5 separate regions of the Homo sapiens genome follow, and all the other regions are linked to region 2. Evidence: promoter capture Hi-C in 16 types of primary human blood cells and fetal thymus (Javierre and others, 2016). All regions are on one chromosome and are shown on one strand. Each heading gives the region's core, a stretch centred on a gene start or on the middle of the fragment in contact. The rest is flanking DNA. Distances are from core to core; before and after follow the strand shown.

Evidence for each region. The method cuts DNA at HindIII sites, captures the fragments that hold promoters and counts their contacts. A CHiCAGO score of 5 or more calls a contact.
Region 1: a contact is called between a fragment that was not itself captured here and the fragment with the promoter of MTF1 in region 2, in 2 of 17 cell types (fetal thymus and neutrophils). The highest score is 8.2, in fetal thymus.
Region 3: a contact is called between a fragment that was not itself captured here and the fragment with the promoter of MTF1 in region 2, in 10 of 17 cell types (M1 macrophages, M2 macrophages, fetal thymus and 7 more). The highest score is 8.6, in M1 macrophages.
Region 4: a contact is called between a fragment that was not itself captured here and the fragment with the promoter of MTF1 in region 2, in 1 of 17 cell types (M2 macrophages). The highest score is 5.1, in M2 macrophages.
Region 5: a contact is called between a fragment that was not itself captured here and the fragment with the promoter of MTF1 in region 2, in 1 of 17 cell types (fetal thymus). The highest score is 5.5, in fetal thymus.

What each region holds. Positions count from the first base shown.
Region 1 is chr1:37,997,646-38,000,345 of GRCh38, forward strand. FHL3 (four and a half LIM domains 3) reads right to left here. Exons shown (of 6, transcript NM_004468.5): 2 at 1,612-1,787; 3 at 1,329-1,503; 4 at 318-487; 5 at 39-225. The coding sequence starts at 1,767. Among named protein-coding and RNA genes, the nearest start is that of FHL3, 6.5 kb to the right of the region's middle. RefSeq lists enhancers at 1-764, 1,854-2,641, 2,642-2,700. The HindIII fragment of the contact is 9,250 bases long and covers 1-2,700 here.
Region 2 is chr1:37,857,900-37,860,841 of GRCh38, forward strand. It overlaps MTF1 (metal regulatory transcription factor 1), which reads right to left and starts at 1,693. Exons shown (of 11, transcript NM_005955.3): 1 at 1,632-1,693. It overlaps INPP5B (inositol polyphosphate-5-phosphatase B), which reads right to left. Exons shown (of 24, transcript NM_005540.3): 24 at 2,798-2,942. RefSeq lists a silencer at 1,630-1,959. The HindIII fragment of the contact is 3,574 bases long and covers 906-2,942 here.
Region 3 is chr1:37,695,317-37,698,158 of GRCh38, forward strand. CDCA8 (cell division cycle associated 8) reads left to right here. Exons shown (of 10, transcript NM_001256875.2): 3 at 594-634. Among named protein-coding and RNA genes, the nearest start is that of CDCA8, 4.2 kb to the left of the region's middle. The HindIII fragment of the contact is 2,946 bases long and covers 1-2,816 here.
Region 4 is chr1:37,678,908-37,681,607 of GRCh38, forward strand. AIRIM (AFG2 interacting ribosome maturation factor) reads right to left here. Exons shown (of 5, transcript NM_001350770.2): 5 at 2,663-2,700. Among named protein-coding and RNA genes, the nearest start is that of AIRIM, 10 kb to the right of the region's middle. The HindIII fragment of the contact is 3,960 bases long and covers 1-2,700 here.
Region 5 is chr1:38,019,512-38,022,524 of GRCh38, forward strand. The region is part of intron 6 of UTP11 (UTP11 small subunit processome component); the gene reads left to right. Among named protein-coding and RNA genes, the nearest start is that of UTP11, 8.3 kb to the left of the region's middle. The HindIII fragment of the contact is 2,007 bases long and covers 406-2,412 here.

The sequences.
Region 1 (2,700 bases), core at 16-2,515, 140 kb after region 2:
TGCACCCTACCCACTCCGTTCTTTGACCCTTGTCCCACCTACGATGGGGCGCTTGCAGCTGCTGCACTTAGGTGCAAAGAGTTCTCCAAAACAGGCCACACAGTAGGGATCTTCATCCCGGGAGGTGAACTGCTGCCCTGCCAGGGGCGTCTGGCATCCGGTACAGACCAGACATTCTCGATGCCACGGCTGATCACGGTATGTCACTCCACCCTGTGTCAGCGTCTGTGGGGGCAGCATCCATTAGTAGGTATGAGTGGGGATTCCCACCCCACAACAGGCCTCACTCACCCCCACCTGGCTGGCCCAGCCCCCACCTTGCTGCAGCGGGCGCAGCGAGGAGCAAACTTGTTCTCATAGCAGGGCACGCAGTAGTGAGCACCCTTGTCGGGCACAAAAGAACGGGAGCCCAGTGGCTGTTCACAGCCACTGCACAGGAAGCAGTGCTCATGCCATGTCTGGCCTCCATATTCCAGCTTCCGGGACCCTGTGGGGAACAGGGGTCCCATTTAGAGGTTGTGTCCCATGCTCCTGAGGGCCACCCTCTGTAACTTCCCCAGGAGTCTCCACTCCTCTCTCAGCGTGAGCAGGGTGGTGTCCGTGCACATGCAGCAAGAACCCCCCCGCCCTATGTATATTACACATGCTAACCTCTCCCCAGACACCGGACATGATGACCCAGCTAGACACGAGGGTTTTGGCCTATGTTAAGCCCCCATATGTCCCAGAGATGACAATTTCAGCACACATCAAGCCTCCATGTAACAGTCATGAAGTCTCACTAAGAGCTAAGCCCTCATATAACAGATGTGATGATTTTAGCACTCACATGGGACCCCACATGTACCAGGCAAGTAAGTATCTGCCCACACAAAGTTCTAATGCCCTGGGCATGACAGGTTCGGTACATGCTAAGCCCTCGCATCTCCTCGGCACACCATTCTCCATAGGTGCTGAGTCCCAGCATTTCTATTAGGCATGCAGGTCCCCACACATGTTAAGCCCTCTGTTTATCTGCTTCTGCATACATTAAGACCCAATGCAACAAGCATGACAGTCTCAGCACACCTCTAGTTCCTACCTGTACTAAACATGCAGATATTCACACATGCTAAGCCCCCAAGTATGTATCACATGTGTCAATCTGCCTGTACATAGTAGCCCCCAGGAGTATACCAGGCAAACAGATCCCGTATATACTAAATTTCCAGAAACATGCTGTGTATGCAGGTCTTTACACAGACCAAGTCTCCATGTATCAGACAGACACATGCAAAGACCCTACGCAGATGCCAGTTCTCACACAAGATGAGCCCCTGAACACATACCAGGCATGACAGTCTCCCCACAAGCGGAGCACTGCGAGGAAAACGCACTGCAGTAGCAGTCATTGCAGAGCAGCTCACTGTCCTGGCAGGTGAAGGGTTCATCGGCTAGTGAGCGCTGGCAGCGGCAGCAGCGGAAGCAGCCCTCGTGGAAATGGCGGTCTTCATAGAACAGCTCCTGTGGGGAACACAGCAGGGGCACTGGCACCCAGGCCTCATGGACCCATCCTTTGCCCCCTTCCACTGGTCACCACCCACCTCCTGCCTGGCCTGGCCCTCTCCTTACCCTCGAGTCATGCCCGATAAGCTGCTGGCACTCAGCACAGGTGTTGGCAAAGGTATTGTCATAGCAGGGCACACAGTAGGGGCCGCTGTCTGTCTGGATGTACTTGCGTCCATACAGGGACTCGTTGCATTTTGCACAGTCAAATGACTCGCTCATGGTGGCAAGGGGAGAGAACCCTGTTAGGAGCACAAGGTGGAACTGGGGTCACACAGAGAGGCTGTGGCTTGGCTCCTGGCAAAGAGGCCTCTGCATTCAAAACACAGCCAAGAGACCCGGCATAGGAAATGCCAGTTCAGAGTAGGTGGGGATGGGGAAGGGGTGCTTCTGGGAAACCAGGAATCCCACATGTTTCTTTCTGTATTTAACTCGGGGTAGGAAGAGGTCAGGAAAAAAACCAGGAAGCAGAAGTTGTTTTCTTATCTAGGCCCTAGCAGATCTAGGGGGAGGGGGCTTTTCCTGGGTCAGTGACTCATTTCCTGTCCCAGCCAGCGTCTAGCCTCCACTGTCCCGACTGTCCCCAGCGTGGGAGAAGCAGGGGCAGGGAGCCACCCCACTCTACTCCTTATGAGCAGTACTCCCACCCTCTCCTGACTCCCAGGAAGGGACTTTAGGAATATGGATAAAGGAACCCTTAACCAGAGCTCTGGAGTACAGAACTTAGAGACGGGAATGGGCTGTGCCTGCCCCTCCTGATCCAGAAAACAGTGGAATGCTAGAGAGGTGCTGGACTAATGAATGGTAGAAGAGGCCAGTGTGAGAGGTTGGGCCTTCCCTCCCGGGGAATCAGCCAAGCAATGGGAACTTCAGAGGCTCAGCTTAGGTTCAAGCAGGAAGGAAATCCTGCAAGCTGGACACAGCCAGTCTTCCCTAGCTAGACCCTCTGCCCTCATCCCCCCACCCCCGCTGTGTCACACCAGCTTGGACAGCCTTGGCCTGTAACATCTGCAGCAGCTGTGGCGGCACAGATGGCCAGATGTCAGGTTTTGCCAGCAATGGGGAGAAAAAAGGAAAATGAAGTGTCGGGGGAGGCAGAGGGGAACTGGAGACAGACTGGGAGTGCAGTGTACCCCCTGCCACCTCCTGCTAACA
Region 2 (2,942 bases), core at 443-2,942:
GGCGTGGTGGCTCACACCTGTAATCCCAACACTTTGGGAGGCTAAGATGGGAGGATCGCTTGAGGCCAGGAGTTTGAGATCAGCCTGGTCAACATAGTGAGACCCCCATCTCTAATAAAAAAAAAAAAAAAAGAAAAAGAAAGAAAAGCAATGCTTTTCAAAAACTGAATAAGTTCATAAGACCTTCTGAATACGCCTGTCAAACAATTTGAAACTTGGTCAAAATATTTAAAGGGGACAAAAGAGCAAACAGAACAGCAGCTGCTGAAAGGCTGAGTTGCTACAAATCTTAAGGGAAACTCCATCCATTCAAATATCCTCCAAATCAGACCACGAGGCAGTAAATGGTTTCATGCAGTTTATGGTAGAAGGAGCAAGGCTTTGGAGGCAGAGTCATCTACCTACAAATCCTGTCTTTGCCTTTTACTACATGGGTAACTTTTCTGTGCCTCATTTTTCTTACGTGCAAGGTGGGACCAGTAATTCCTGTTCTCTCAAAGTTTTTATAAGAAATAAAAGAGGCAACATATGTAAAGCACAATGTTTGGTAAATAGTAGAGGAACAAGTATGAATTCCTTCCCCCCTACCTAGAACAGATGTTTCAACCTTCTGGGTGGAAGGGCTATTCCTCAATCAGGCACAAACAACGAAGATCACTGTATCTATTTATGTCCTAAAACAATATGGTGTCAACAAGAAGTTATGGTTCTGTGGTGGGCTCTCGTCCCTGAATCAATTGAGTCTTATTATTTTTGTTTCTACAGCTCCTAGCATAGTACACTGATACTATGATAAGAGTTCAGGAAATGTCAGCTAAATGACTGAAAGACATGGCTACCTACTCTCTCGTGAAGATATACTATCTTGGGAAGATACATTCTCTTGAGAAAAATACCACATTTGAAGCTTTCATGTTCTGGAATAGTGATTCTTCCTTCATCTGCAAACACAGGCTCTACAAATGTGGGTTTGGCAGGCAGAATAGAGAATTTTAAAATAATCAGCACATCCCTTTTAGTTTTCAGTCTGGCTTTGCGCTTTATCTTTCTCTTCTGCTCTGGGTTAGAAAGTGAGCCTTTACTTAGTGGGATGGCTAGACAGTTACCAGAGACAGGCCAAAGGATTGGATCCGGGAGGTACCGGCCCGACCCCTAGCTCTGGCTTACGCAACCCCACAGATGTACATTTCGCTGCATCTGAGCAGAGAGAGAAGAGCACCGAGGGCCCCAGTGGGCTGCCCCGGCACCCTCGGCGGCAACGCGGAGACCAACTGTCCGAAACAAACAAGACCAGGAGGTTTGAGGGTAGCCAACGAGGAGTGCGAACAGAGCCCCCTTGAGAGGAGGCTGGGAAAAGGAACCTGTCTGGGATAGCCCCCAGCACAGGGCTACACAGAAAAATCCGAAGACAAGCTGGGGGTCTCCAAGCAAGGAGGAGAGGGGCAGGGTCCGGGTCTCCATGGAAACAGGGAAGGGGGGCTGGATACCCATCCCCATGGAAACGGAGAAGGGGTGGGGTCCCTATGGTGACCAAACTGAGGTCTCTATTGGGAAATGCTTCAGGAGGGAGCCTAAGTCCCGCGCCTCCCGGTAAGTCCCAAGCCCAGGCCGAGTCTAGTTTCGCCTTTTACCTCCGCGGCTCCCGGCAACGGCGGCAGCAGCAGCTTCTCCCCTCCCCAGCGGCACCATGATTGCCCCCACCTTCCCCTAACGTCACTTCCGCTTCCTCTTTCCGGAGGAAGGTGGGGACAGAGGATCCGCCCCTCCCTGGCGCCTCTGGTTGGCTCAGGTTGTCAGGGGGCTGAGCTGCAGCCTCCAATTGGCGAGCGGGGCACCGAGGGGAAGGCGCCCAGGAGGTGGGTTCATCCGCGTGGGGAAGCGCCCGGGGTGGCCACGCGGGGCCCGGAGGGTGTCGCCCTCGCGGCACCGGAGTCAAGGAGAAGGGAACGAATCCCCAAGGAAGAATCCGAAATGTCCTCAGCCAGGTTTGCGCTGACCGCCCTCGCCCTGGCAGCCACAGCCGCAGCGGGAAGGACCACAGTTGGCAGTCAGAACCCTGGCTCCAACCCGCCAGGGGAGCCTGGACGGCCGCGACGTTCCCGGGTTTCTCCTGCCGGGACCCCGGCCTTCCCTTCAGCACCCATCAAAGTTAACACAGGCAGGAGGCCCAGAAAGGAAGACAAGACCCCAAAGGCAGAACTAAGAGTATTCTAAGCCCAGCTGGAGAGGACGCCGCCGCCTCTTCCCCTTCTCACGCGCTTGCCTAGGACCCCCAGCTCCCTTCTCACGCGCTTGCCCAGGCTGGCGGTCCCAACTTTCTTCCCCTGCAAGAGGACGCGGCTACGGCGGGACTCATGCCCGGGCCAGTTAGCGCCACCTACCGGCCACTCCCTTCCTTTCACCGTTCACATTGTCCTGCTGGCCCGCGTCTTAAACCCATTTCACAGTGCCCAGAAGTAGTGGGCATTCGTACCCAGGAAGCGATTCTGCCTTCGTTATGCCCCTGTCCTTTCCAAATGCCTGGAGGATCTAGCTGTTAGATCCTCCCAGCTGCCACTGCCTGTTTTAACCATAAGCTGCTTCTCTCGAATATTCAGAGTGGGACAACTCCAAAGACCAGACCAGGGGTCAAGGGGTTCAGGTCAGTGCCATAACCATTTCTTGCTGGAAGTATGTGAATAGTGACTGGTACCCACCAGACTGCCAGGAATATGTCTCTTTGGCCCCAAGGCTTGAGCCACAAAATCCAGCTGCAGCGAACTGCCATCTCTTAAGACATAAAAACATACACAACCGCCACTGTTAAAAATACATTTATCATTAAAATATATTACACATGGAGACAGGATGCATCATATACAGTTTGGAAGACTTGCTGGCCCAGAAAATCCCACTTGTTTCACCGAACACTCATTTTTTCAGTGATTTTACATTTTATTTTT
Region 3 (2,842 bases), core at 94-2,593, 160 kb before region 2:
CAGGAGTTCAAAACCAGCCTGGGCAACATAGCAGGAGACCACATCTCTACTTAAAAAAAAAAAAAAAAAAAAAAAAGACAACCTGGACAACTTGGCGAAACCCTATCTCTACAAAAAAACACAAAAATTAGCCGAATGTGGTGGCGCATGCCTGTAGTCCCAGCTACTTGGGAGGCCAAGGTGGGAGGATCAGTTGAGCCCAGGAGACAGCCAAGGAGGCGCCACTCCACTCCAGCTTGGGTGACAGAGCAAGACTCTGTCTCAAAAATAAATAAAATTTAAAATATATTTTTTAAAAAGAAAAATAAGCAGAATTTTTGGGGTGATGTTTGAGCTGAGTTTTGAAGGATGAGTTAGAAATTTGTTAAGTACGGAGGTGAATTTCAGGCAGAGGAAATACAAAGTACCATGGCAACAAGTCATGAGAGTCAGTGGCACATTTGGGATATAACTTGGAGAAAGAATAGATTAGATGGTGAAGGTCCTTGAAGGTTAGACCAAGGGCTGGACCAGTTTTAGAAAGATAAATGGTACTATTAGGCAAGATGATTTATTGTTAAAATGTAATAGTAACTACAACGTTCTTTTTAAAGCCCTTGGAGGAAACAAACAGGCCCTGGAAGAGGCGGCAACAGTAAGTGACCTTTCCTATTTTCCAGCCAGTGGTTACTTAAGTCTAGTCCAGTCCCCAGATCCAACTAATAGATGCTTACTGTGGAAGAGGTTTCATAAAGGGACATCATCTGTTTGTGTCAACTGAAAAATTAGAGTTGGACCAGACACTGTATACATGAGACCCAGATAGTTCTGAGCCCTACAGAAGGTGGCAGTTCTGTTTTTGACCAATTTCTTGCAGTCCTTTGTTCTGAACTCTACAGCGGAAGTAGAAAGCCTCAAGCCCAAGTTCCTTTAAGCGCCTGAGTCATTACACTATGCATTGGCCTGCTAGATGATAAAGGTGTTTCATCATGTCGTACTGTAGAAGCAGTGCTTTTGCTTGGGATGCTCAGTATTCCCCAACCCCTCTCATCTCCTTCCTCCCAGCATCAGTGCCAGGATTGAAGGCAGTAAGATGGGGATGCAAAATAGAGCATTTAAAGCTGCACTGTCCAGTGTAGTAGCCACTGGGCATATGTAGCTATTTCAGTTAATTACAATTAATAAAATTAAAGAATTCATTTCCTCAGACATACTAGCCACATTTTACATGTTCAATACCTACATATGACTAGTAGCTACTCCATCAGAGAGCACAGAAATAGAACATTGCTACTCTTGCAGAAAGTTTTATGAGACAGCATTGGGAACTAGTCCATACATGGGCTTCACAGAGTCCCTAGGCACTCTAAAATAATATACAAACAATGCGTGTGTATGCACGCATTTGTGTATCTTTCTGTTAGTTTATTGTAGCCTTGATCAGATTTACAAAGTAAACCCCAAAATTACATCTTTTGTTGAGTTGATCAGAATCATTTGGAATATCAGGGTTTGAAGGAGTCTGACCACCAAGGGCACATAGCAGATCTCCGCCAGCTTCATTCAGAAGGTAAAGGTAATGAGGAGCCAATTATCAATTTGGAAAAAATTGGAGCATTTGGGAGAGAGGTGGGGATTATTCACCCCCCTACATACACTGAGCTCCAATGTTTTAAAAGAGTTACCTCTGAGATGAATTATGCTTACTAGCTAATGCAGTTCTCTCTTTTTAAATTAGAAATACAGAACTGCAAATGAGAACTTCTAATGTAATATGAGAGAGCCATTGTTACCACACCAAGTTGAGAGAATTCTAGCCTTGACTAATATGATTTAAAACTCCAGAAAGGAACGATAGAAAATCTATAAAAGCTCTTAGTTGGGAAGTGTGTTGGGGCTCCCAAGACCACCTCCAGGTTTGGTGATTCACTAGGAGGATTCATGGGGCTCAGCATACAGTCACACCCATGGCGATGATTTATTACAGTGAAAGTATACAAAGCATTAATCAACAAAGGAGAAAATTGCATAGGACAAAGTCCAGAGGAAACCAGGCTTCTAGGAGTCCACTCCCTGTAGAGTCAAACAGAACATGCTTAATTCAACACATATGAAATGCTGTCTACCAGAAAATCTGATTAGAGAGTCAATGCCCAGAGTTTTAACTGGGGGCTGCTCACATAGGCATCCTCTGCCTAGCACATGTCAAAATCCTAGACTTTCAGGAGGGAAGTAGGTGTTCAGCATGAGCCATATTGTTTGCATAAAGTTTAGGCACAGTGAGGCATCTTGTTAAGGAAAGGTGGGAATCTTTCTGAAATCAAGTTCCCAGATGCCAACCGAGGCCAGGCTTGCAAACAGGCCTTTCTATGTGTATCAGTCTCAGGCCTGCTCTGTTAACTGTCCTGCACAGTAGATGCCCAGTGGCCTGCCACCACTGATGACTCCATAAAATGCCAGTTGTTTCTAGAGATGGCAGAAGGTTGGCAGGAATGCCCCTACTTTCTGTTGCATCAAGCCTGGCAAACATCAGTAACTTATTACAGCCCTATTTCTTGCTAAGCCTAAGACAGCCTCAGAATCCTTCTCTGAGTATGTCAAGCAGTCCCTACCAGAAATGAAACCTGTGCCATTCCAAACCTGTAGTAATTATTCTGATGTTTACATGTGTTCTATAAGGAAAGGACTGTGAATCATGACTGCTCTTTGTAGTGCCCATACTTATTACCATATGAAAAAAAAACGAATTTGAATGGTGACTGGAAGCCTTTTTGAAGGACCCAGGATCATCATAGAAAACCTTATTGAGACCCTGTAGATTTATCGAAAAAATGGTAAGCTTGACACACCACCAAGTGTTGTA
Region 4 (2,700 bases), core at 38-2,537, 180 kb before region 2:
GTGATTCTAGTAAAAAATACTGACAATTTATTTTTTGTTGTTGGAAGGTGATGGGGTTAGCTAAATGGAAAATTCCAGGTGGTGGAGGGGAGGCCTAATGAACAAGAGTGGGAGTACAGGCGGGTTGCTACTATAAAAACCAATAGGTATTAAGACTTTGGAAACAAATGTCCACCCTAAGGAGCTATTTTAAGTAAATTATGGTTTACCCACACAACAGAAATCTATGCAACTGTTTAAAACAATGTAAGGAAGCTCTTTATATAGAATGAACTCCAAGATACGGTAAGAAAGAACAAGGTGCAAAAGTGGGTATATGGTATGTTAGCATTTATATAAAAATGAAGGGAGGTTTTTTTGTTGTAGTGATTATCTATCGCTGTGGAACAAATGGCCCCCAAACTTAGTGATTTAAAACATTTATTATCCCAGTTTACATGGATCAGGAATCCGGGCACTGCTTAGCTGGCTGCCTTTGGGTCGGGTCTTCAAGAGGCTGTAGTCAAGCTGTCAGCAGGGGCTGTGGACCCATCAGAAGGTTCAACTGTGGGAGGGAGGATCTGTTTCCAAGTTCAGTCACATGGTTGTTGGCAGGCATTGGTCTCTCACATGAGCCTCTCCACATGGCTGCCTCACAGCATCGCAGCTGCCTTTCCCCAGGGTGGGTGATCCCAGAGAGAGAGAGAGAGAGAGCACCCAAGATGGAAGCTGCAGTCTTTTTTACCTATTTCAGAAGTGACATCCTACCACTTGGGTAGTATTTTATTCATCAGAAGTATATCTGTGGCCGGGCGCGGTGGCTCACGCCTGTAATCCCAGCACTTTGGGAGACCAAGGGGGGCAGATCACAAGGTCAAGAGATCGAGACCATCTTGGCCAACATGGTGAAACCCTGTCTCTAACTAAAAAATACAAAAATTAGCTGAGCGTGGTGGCACATGTCTGTAGTCCCAGCTACTCGGGAGGCTGAGGCAGGAGAATCGCTTGAAGCCGGGAGGTGGAGATTGCAGTGAGCCAAGATCACGCCACTGCACTCCAGCCTGGTGACAGAGCGAGACTCTGTCTCAAAAAAAAAAAAAAAAAGAAGTATATCTGTCAGTCCAGCCCATCTGGAAGGAGAGGGGAGTACACAAGGGCAAGAATACCAGAGGTGGGAGCACTGGGGGCTGTCTTTGAGGATACCTACCCACCACACTCACACAGGCATAGTATTTTTGGAAAGATACACTAGAAACATTCAATATTGGTTGCCTTCAGGGAAGGGAATTGGGAAACTCCCACCTCAGCCTCGCAGATAGCTAGGACTACAGGCACACACCACCACACCTGGCTCTTTTTTTCATAAAGACAGGGTTGTCTGGCTAGTCTAAACTCCTGACCTCAAGCCATCCTCCCACCTTGGCCTCCCAAAGTGCTCGTACAGGCAAGAGCCATTGTGCCCAGCCTAAATATGCTCTTGCATACCTATTTTACAATATTGATATATCACTTAAAAAATAAATCAGGCTTGGTGTGGTGGCTCATGCCTGTAATCCCAGCACTTTGGGAGGCCGAGGCAGGCAGATCACTTGAGGTCAGGATTTGGAGACCAGCTTGGCCAACATGGCGAGACCTTGTCTCTATTAAAAATACAAAAATTAGGCAGGCATGGTGGTAAGCACCTGTAATCCCAGCTACTCTGGAGGCTGAGGCAGGAGAATCGCTTGAACTTGGGAGGCAGAGGTTGCAGTGAGCTGAGATTGTGCCTCTGCACTCCAGCCTGGGTGGGAGTGAGACTCTGTCTCAAAAAAATAAATTTTATTTTAAATTTAAAAAGAACAATGAAAAATATGGCATTTTAACAGACACAAAGCTAAGAGGGAACAAAATAAAAACAATACTTAAATACTATATAGTTATTACTGAGCACCATAAACGTGCTTGTTTCTACTTAGCCATTACTTGCTTCTATGAGGGAGGTTTAAAAACCTCTTTATTACACATGCATACACATAAGCGAGCATCTCCCACTTGTAGAGCAAAATACAAACGCTTGAGCTGGGACTCATAATCCTCTTCACAATTTGGTTCCAGTCCACCCTTACTGACCCACTTCCTGCCATCCTTCTATCCATCTGTGAACTTGTTATTTGTGATACTGAACTATTATTTGCCAGTTGTGGAGGGTAAAGGCAACAAGCACAATGCCTGGCACACAGCTAGCTTTCGTCAAGTGTTGGCTTCCATCCTGCCTCAAACATGGCCTTTGTTTAGATTATCCCCTGTGCATGGAATGCCCCGCACCCCTCTCCTAGCCCCAGGTAAAATTCCCTTCAAGGCCTACCTCAAATGTCACTGTCATCAAGAAGGAGTTCCACAGGCAATTAGTTATCATCTCTATTCTCCCACAGCACCTGTTTTTACCTTAACTATAACACTTTTATTATTGTATTACAACTTAAGTCTCTGCAATCCAAAGTCTGGTCCTTGGACCATTAGCTGAGACTTCGTTTGAAATGCAGAATCTGGGCCCCATCCCAGACCTACAGAATCAGAATCCAAATTTTAACAAGATATCAGTGACTTATTTGCACATTAATCTTTCCCTGGTGGAACTGTGAGCCTTTCTAGGGCTCTCTTTTATTTCTGTCCCCAGAGCCCAACATAAGACTTGACACTTAAATGCTTTTTAAGTTTTATTTGCAATACTTATATGATAGA
Region 5 (3,013 bases), core at 159-2,658, 160 kb after region 2:
GTCTCACTGTCTCCCAGGCTGGAGTGCAGTGGCACGATCTCGGCTCACTGCAACCTCCGCCTCCTGGGTTCAAGCAATTCTCATGCCTCAGCCTCCCCAGTAACTGGGACTATAGGGGTGCAACACCACACCCAGCTTATTTCTGTATTTTTCATAGAGATGGGGTTTCGCCATGTTGGCCAGGCTGGTCTTGAACTCCTGACCTCAGTTGATCTGCCTGCCTTGGCCTCCCAAAGTGTCGGGATTACAAGCGTGAGCCACTGTGCCTGGCCTAAAATAATTATTTATTTATGGAAAACTCATGAGTTCCCTTAGAAAAGTGGATTTGTAGGATGATTTGATGATGGGATGGAAGTGGAGAAGGGCTTCCTAATTTCTATGATCGGAGGAGGTATAGTGGTCAGAAGCTTAGGTTCTGGCCTTTAGACCTGGGTTTGAATCCCAATTCTGACCCTGCGCTTTGTGCTTTTAATACTTGTAACAGATGCCAGTGTTTTGAAAATGCAGAGAAAGGGATTGCTGAAGATTAAAGGATTTGCAATACTTTAATATTGAACCTTTAGCAGTGAATACGCACATCAAAAGGTCTTTCTGTGTTTTTATTTTTCTTGAGACAGGGTCTCACTGTCACCCAGGCTGGAGTGCAATGGTGTGATTATGGCTCACTGCAGTCTCCACCTTCTGGGCTTAAGCGATCCTCCTGCCTCAGCCTCCTGGGTAGCTGGGACCACAGGTGTGTGCCACCATGCCTAGCTAATTTTAAATTTTTTTTGTAGAAACGGGGTCTCGCTAAGTTGCCCAGGCTGGTCTTAAACTCCTGAGCTCAAGTGTTTACTCCCGCCTTGGCCTCCTGAAGTGTTGGGATTACAGGCGTGAGCCACCATGCCTGCCCAAAAGGTCTTTCATATTGTGTATTGTAACAAAAATTTTGTTTTGGCTTTTCCTTATGGTGCTTTCCGTCACTGTAACTGGGTTGTGCAGAAGACATGCTTTTCCTGAAAGCCTTCTGGAGTTGAACTCTTCTGACTGATTCATTAAAAAAAAATGCTGTCAATGTGTTTCAAGCAGACAGCTGTTCTGTTTTGATTTGAATCATTTACACTGCATCAGTTTTGCTTCCAATGTTTAATTTCACAGCAGTTTTCTCTAGCTCAGAGGCAGCTAAACTTGCTTTAGTAATATAAATACCCCTAATTAGTTTGACTATATTGGGTAATCCCATAAATCTGACAGTCTGTGCAATAAAGCGAAAACAAAAGCTGTCTGAAACCACTGCTGTGAGACTGTGCTAGAATCTGTGAATTGTTGAAGTCTAAGGCCCAGTAATATTTCCTTCTGTAGATAACACTTCCAGCCAAAGAGCTTGCTCATGAGTGTTCTTGTGATAACCCTGTTGTTTGTCAATTAGGTGTACTTTTTTTTTTTTTTGAGACGGAGTCTCACTCTGTCACCCAGGCTGGAGTGCGGTGGCGTGATATCGGCTCACTGCAACCTCTGCCTCCTGGGTTCAAGCAATTCTCTTGCCTCAGCCTCCCGAGTAGCTGGGATTACAGGTGCCCGCCACCACGCCTGGCTAATTTTTTGTATATTTAGTAGAGACAGGGTTTCACCATTTTGGCTAGGCTGGTCTTGAACTCCTGACCTTGTGATCCACCCACCTCAGCCTCCCAAAGTGCAGGGATTACAGGCGTGAGCTACCGCGCCCGGCAATTAGGTGTACTTTCAATTAGCCGTGTCACTGACGCTTCTCAAGAATTGTGGTAGTCCCTAAAGAGATTAGTATTCCAAATTCCCATGTAGAATAGTTCACCAGCATAGCTTTTGAGAAGTTAGGGAGGTTTAGATTTTTGCCATTTTTGTCTAGTAATTATGTTTCTTTCTATTTTGTTTACTGCAAAATCATTTTTATTAAGAGACTGCTGGTGGGTGGATTGCAAGGATATTTTGTCTGTAACTTCGAGTGGGTAGACAACCCATGAGTGAGCTTTAGGAGGTCTGAGAAAACCCCCCTTTCTCACTGGTATTTTGTGCAGATAGGTATATGTGCTTGCACAACCTTTTACAAATGTGTATGTACATTTATCTCAAGAAACATCCCATGCTGGGCGTGGTGGCTCATGCCTGTAGTCCCAGCAATTTGGGAGGCCAAGGCAGGTGGATCACTTGAGGTCAGGAGTTCGAGACTAGCCTGGCCAATGTAGTGAAACCCTGTCTCTACTAAAAATACAAAAATTAGCCAGGCGTGGTGGCGGGCACCTGTAATCCCAGCTACTAGGGAGGCTGAGGCAGCAGAATTGCTTGAACCCAGGAGGCGGAGGTTGTAGCGAGCCGAGATAGTGCCACTGCACTCCAGCCTGGGCGACAGAGCAAGACTCCGCCTCAGAAAAAAAAAAAAAAGAAGAAAGATCCCAAAGCTTTCATCAGTTTCTCTGAGGTTGATGATTCCCCAAAATGTAAGGACCCCACTGATCTTTGAGGAGTCATTAGCAGTGAGAATTCTCAGGTGAGCTTCTGCTGAAAAAATTCTTCTGCTTTCTGAGTGGTAAGATTTTCAGGCACCAGCACACTGCCTGGGGACCCTTCTGTTGCCGACTCTTCTGTTGCTCTCCATTCACTTTGTATAGGGTTTCCAACACTGATTCATTCCTGCCATCATCTCAGGTGACTGTGGCACTCACACAAAGGTTGAAGCAGCTTAGTGTAGTAGTGGAAAGATTCCTGGGATTTGTGAGAGGGGGACGGTCCTGACTCTGCTCCAGGTGAGCTGTGTGTCCTTGGACCACTTCTTCTCTGGGCCTCATTTTTCTGCGTTTGTAAATGACGGGTTTCGATAAGATAGTCTACAGGGTTCCTTTTTTAATTTTTAATTTTTTTTTTTTGAGACAGAGTCTCATTATGTTGCCTACGTTGGTCTGGAACTCCTGGGCTCAAGTGACCCTCCCTCCTCAGCCTCCCAAAGTGCTGGGATTACTGGCGTGAGCCACTGCGTCTGGCCCAGGGTTCCTTTCAGCTC